2 separate regions of the Homo sapiens genome follow, and region 2 is linked to region 1. Evidence: promoter capture Hi-C in human tissues and cell types (Jung and others, 2019). All regions are on one chromosome and are shown on one strand. The core of a region is centred on a gene start or on the middle of the fragment in contact, and the rest is flanking DNA. Distances in the headings are between cores, read along the strand shown.

The links. The method cuts DNA at HindIII sites, captures the fragments that hold promoters and counts their contacts. A contact is called where the count stands out against the background at its distance.
Region 2: a contact is called between a fragment that was not itself captured here and the fragment with the promoter of PANK4 in region 1, in 1 of the 25 tissues and cell types used here (dorsolateral prefrontal cortex).

The regions. Positions count from the first base shown.
Region 1 is chr1:2,525,323-2,528,022 of GRCh38, forward strand. It overlaps PANK4 (pantothenate kinase 4 (inactive)), which reads right to left and starts at 1,274. Exons shown (of 19, transcript NM_018216.4): 1 at 1,142-1,274. The coding sequence starts at 1,265. RefSeq lists an enhancer at 1,301-2,021. The HindIII fragment of the contact is 22,461 bases long and covers 1-2,700 here.
Region 2 is chr1:2,218,686-2,221,385 of GRCh38, forward strand. LOC124903823 (a long non-coding RNA gene) reads left to right here. Exons shown (of 2, transcript XR_007065358.1): 2 at 1,850-2,064. Among named protein-coding and RNA genes, the nearest start is that of SKI, 8.3 kb to the right of the region's middle. The HindIII fragment of the contact is 5,387 bases long and covers 1-2,700 here.

The DNA.
Region 1 (2,700 bases), core at 24-2,523:
CAGGTTGGGCATCCTTTTCGGGGGCTGGGGCTACAAGACACACCGCTGCTCTTGTGGGATTCACACACAAGCAGACTCAGCCTACGACCGAGATGAGTGCTAAGAGGGAGAGGTATGTGAAGCCGCAGCGGCTATTCAAGGGGGGTTTCTCCAGGTGAAGCTGCCCCCAGGAAGCCCTCATGCCTGAAACATGGGCAGAGTAGGAGAGCAGGGAGTGGCTGGTTCAAATCCTGGTTCTGCCACTTTCTAGCCCGATGACCCTGGGCAAATTAGTTCACCTTTCTGGGGCTTGGTATCCTCATCTGCGAAAAGGGAGTAATTCGCGTTCCTCCCCTAGAGGTGGCTGGGAGGTGTCCGGGAGTCAGGAGCGTGGGAAAAAGGTCTAGAACAGAGCCTGGCCCGCCGTCATTACTGAGAGCACAGCCATCAGGCAGGAGGGTCTGCAGCGGACCCTGGAGAGGCCAGGGCAGAAGTGCAGGCCGCCTTAAAGGCCACGGAAGGCACGGGTGGCTTTTAAACCAGAGGCACGAGTTCCCAGGTCCCACGTCCACGGCCGCCTGAACTCACGCCCGGCGTCCACTCTCCAGAGAGCGGGGCCTGTGCACGGACTGTCCGGCCCGCGGGCCACAGCTGGCCACGCCGCGGGAACGCGCGGCCTTTTCGGGGCCACTCTGCCAAGGGCTTCCCGCCGAGCTCGTCCTCGTCTCGACCAGAACTAAGGACCCCAAATCTCAGGCCAGCCACCAGCCAAGCGGCGGAGCCGGGGCGCCCAGATGCCGATGTGGCCGAAGACATAAAATTCCGCCGACCCTCCCACCTCGCGGCGGGTAACGCTGGACCCCGGCCCCCAGCCACCCAGGACGGCCGCGCGAACTACCAGGCCCGGCAGGCCCCGCTCTGGTCCCTGCGGCGCCTGCCGGTAGCTGTAGTCCGGCCGTCGCCCCGAGCCCGCGCATCAGCGACCCTGCGGACTACAAGGCCCGTGAGGCTGTGCGCGGGCCCGCGGACTACAAGGCCCGTGAGGCTGTGCGCGAGGCCCGCGCCCCCGCCCTTCGTCCTTCCCGCCGCCCCCGCTCGCCGGCCCACCGCCGGCGCCCCGCCCGCCCCCGCAGCCCGCGCCCGGCGCCCGGCCTGCGGCTACCTATGTCGATGGCGAAGCGCTTGGCGTTCTCCAGGTTGCGGAAGATCTCGTCGGGGGGCAGCGTGATGCTCTTGTCCAGACTGTCCCCGCTGCTCCCGCTGCCGCTCGCTCCACACTCCGCCATTTTGAAAGTGCCCGGCCAGCTCATCAGCCATGGAGATATATGCGCATATATTTGACTGCCAAACGCCCCCTCGCATAGATTATGTTAATGAGGCGCCGGCCCCGCCCCTTCCCTCCCCCACCCCCGGCCTCTGAGGTCTCGGCCGCTACAGGGCGAGCTAGGGCCAGTGCTGGGCAGGGGTCCGAGAGGCCCGGGGCTGCGGGCGGGCGGGCGGTTATCCTCCAGAGATCGCGCATCAGCACAGAACATCTGGACTGATGTTCTTTTACCGCGCTGTCCACAGGCTTAACTCAAGTGCTCTGAGCCCTGCTGAGGGAGGCCGCAGAGGCCGCCCACCTGCTTCTAAGGGGGCACGTGGGTCTGCAGACTGTCAGAGAGCCCTGCCCTTCAGCGAGTGCCTGCTGTAAGCTTGGCCCTGCACGCCAGGGCGAATGTGATGCGCTCTTTGCTAGGGTGACTCAATCCTGGCTTCCCAGGGGCGTGGGACTTTCAATGTTAAAAGTCCCATGCAAACCAGAGGAGTGGGGAACCCTGCCCCACCTGGGAGGAGCCCCAGCCTGGCATGCACCTGCGGGTAGGGAAGATGTGTGCTGTAATGGCGATCCGTGGAAAGTGCTGTGGTCGGGGGAAGCCAGGCAGGCTGCCTGTGGGCAAGACAGGTGCCTGGGAGGCTGCAGGAACAAGCCTTGGAAGCAGCTGGAGCCAGGACAGGGGTATAGGTGGGGCAGGCCAGGGTTCCAGGGTGAGTGGCTGGGAAGCCCTGCTGGCATGAAGAGATGCGTCTTCTCCAGAGGCTCTGGGCGCCTTGGGAAAAAGCCCAGTGTTGGAAGCAGACAGATCAGCCCCTCCCGGGTAACCCGGGGTCATTACTGCATGTCTCTGGCCCTCAGCCTCTGTCTGCACGTGGAGAATGCCACCAGCTGCCTGGCAGGGCTCCTGGGAGCACAGGCCTGTGGGGCGGCACAAACTCCAGGGATAATGCATCTGTGTGCGCAGGGCAAGCCTTCAGGGAGGAGGCATCCTTGCCTGTGTCTTCCAAGGGGGTGGGTGTGTGGCTCTGGAGGGGGAGCCTGCCCCAGGGAGGCCTGGGTGGAAGAGTGGAGCACACCCCAGGCGGCTTAGACCTCTGGCAGCTCAGACCCCTGGCAGCATGGTGTGCCATGGGCCAGGCTGGCAGGAGGTGCCCTCCATGAGGGGCGCCCACCTGTGTGCCCACTGAACATGCGGGAAACATGCAGGTGAATGGGGGCCTTCCCTGTCCTCTGCCCACCATACCCCGGGGCTCGGTAGGGACCACTGGCAGGCACTGGGTTGGTCTGGTGGGGGGACCCTGTCTAGACTGCCTGTGGAGTAGCCAGAAAGGGGCTGAAGGCTGAGCGGAGCGAGAGGGGCTGAGCAGGAAGGAGCAGGCAGGGCAGGCCCACACACGGGGCTA
Region 2 (2,700 bases), core at 66-2,565, 310 kb before region 1:
ATTGTCTCTGTGGAACTCACCAAGCCCTGGCCCTCCTTTGCTCCTCCATTACGGCCCTAGCGTCAGCTTCTTTCAAAGCTTTCACCCATTTTTTTTTGTCTTAGCTCTCTCCATACTTCTCAATTATGTGCTCTTGCTGCTCCTCCTTGGTTTAGCAGCTTTATACATGGTGAGATGTTACTGGAGAATGAGGGTTTTGCTCTTATCCAATGCTCCCTGCCCCACCCTACCATCTCTTCTTCTGTCTTCCCAAATGAGCAATTTCCTCATTTTTGTTTAAGTTGATGTCTCTATTATAATTTGTACTATAACTCTCTGCTGAGTCAAGTAGTGAACTCTGCTTAGGTTTTCTCTTTATTTTTCCTGGAGTTAGTAGTGGCCTTGCTTTCTTCTGTCATCTGCTGAGTTTCCTCTGTGCCTATGGCCCATCCCACCTACCTCTTCCAACAAGCCCTCCACACAGTGTTTGATCTAGTCAGTTGCATCCTACCTTCCACTGGTTCCTTGTTTTCCTGGAGCCCTGTGTCCTTCTGGCTTAGTCTGGGCTGCTTACTCTCTGGGCTCCATGTCTAGGCTGGTGGGCAGAGATTTCCATTTCCCCTTCATGGACTGGGACAGACCCTTCTTAGCTCTTATTGTTATGATGGAAGCCCAGTTCCAGATCCCATTCAGAAAGGGCCTGTGGCCATGACTCTTGTCTCTCACTGGCCTTAACCAGCAGCCCTCAGTGGACGTGAGACCAGGCCCAAGGCTTGCATTGGCAGTTTGGTTTCCACTCTTGCTTACCACTGTGGCTTGAGTGCTATCTTCATTTCTAGCTCTGCACAGCTACCTTCCTTGTGCCTTTTTACAGGACATTTAAAAAACAAATCTGGCCAGGCGAGGTGGCTCACACCTGTAATCCCAGCACTTTGGGAGGCTGAGGCGGGCAGATCATGAGGTCAGGAAATCAAGACCATCCTGGCTAACATGGTGAAACCCTGTCTCTACTAAAAAATACAAAAAAAATTAGCTGGGCATGGTGGCGGGTGCCTGTAGTCCCAGCTACTCAGGAGGCTGAGGCAGGAGAATGGTGTGAACCCAGGAGGCGGAGCTTGCAGTGAGCCGAGATTGTGCCACTGCACTCCAGCCTGGGAAACAGAGCGAGAGAGTGAGACTCTGTCTCAAAAACAAAACAAAACAAAACAAAAAAACCAAATCTGGCCAGGCGAGGTGGCTCACACCTGTAATCCCAGCACTTTGGGAGGCCGAGGCAGGTGGATCACCTGAGGTCAGGCGTTTGAGACCAACCTGGCCAACATGTCAAAACCCCATCTCTACTAAAAAAAATACAAAAATTAGCTGGGCATGATGACGGGTGCTTGTAATCCCAGCTACTCAGGAGGCTGAGGCAGGAGAATCGCTTGAACCCGAGAGGCAGAGTTTACACAGAGCCGAGATTGCGCCACTGCACTCCAGCCTGGGTGACACAACGAGACTCTGTCTCAAAAAAAAAAAAAAAAAAAAATGGCCGGGCACAGTGGCTCACGCCTTTAATCCCAGTGCTTTGGGAGGCCGAGCTGGGCGGATCACAAGGTCAGGAGATCAAGACCATCCTGGCTAACACAGTGAAACCCTGTCTCTACTAAAAATACAAAAAATTAGCCGGGCGTGGTGGCGGGCGCCTATAATCCCAGCTACTCGGGAAGCTAAGGCAGGAGAATCGCTTGAACCCAGGAGGTGGAGGTTGTAGTGAGCCGAGATCGCGCCACTGCACTCCAGCCTGTGTGACAGAGCGAGACTCGGTCTCAAAAAAAAAAAAAAAAAAAGCAAATCTATTTTACCCAGCATGTGTTTGTGCTTGGACTAGGAAGGGGACCCTGCACCATCTTGGCTGGGGTTGTAGCAGATGCTCTGGTGTCCTGTGGCTCCTCCGCCCCACCCTCACAGCGCCCCACTGCAGGGCTGCAGTCAGAAGCCTCAGGTTGCAGCCTGCCCGACAGCTCAAGCTCAGCAGGGCCGAATGGAGAATGTGTACCTCCTCCTCCTAACATTGTTAAAAATAAAATTTGTATTTTGACACAATCTCAAGCTTATAGAAAAGTTGCAAGAATAGTACAGGAACTTTTTTTCCCCTGAAGCATTTGAGGGTTTGTTGCCGCATGGTGCTCACCACACCCCAAAACAAGGACATTCTCCTACACGCCCCAACACGGCTGTCCAAGGCGGGAAATCACGTGGAGTCAGACCCCACTCTGGGCTTTCTGGTTGTCCCAGTAATATCCCTTGCAGTAAAGAGATCAGCCTGGGACCACACATTGCACTGAGGTGCCATCATGTCTTCTGTCTCCTTCGGTCCGGAACATTCCTGGGCCTTTCCCTGACTGTTCTTTGAAGCTTCCAGGCCAGGCCTTTTGGAGACGGTTCCCTGTGTGGCTTTGTCTGAGATGTCATCACAGAGAGACACAGGTTGTGCATCTTTGGCAGGAAAGGAGCAGATGTGACACTGTGGTCTGCTCACCCCACCCTGTCAGGTGGGGCAGGACTCTGATGGATCCAGTATCAATGGAGCCCACCGCGATCGCTCGGTTAAGGTGGGGTCTGTGTCTCCGCTGGAACTGACATTCTTTTTCCCTTTGTGACAAATTAGCATTTTGTGGGGAAGATTCCTCCCTCCCTCCCTCGTTCCTCCCTCTCTCCCCCTCTCTTTTTTAGAGACAG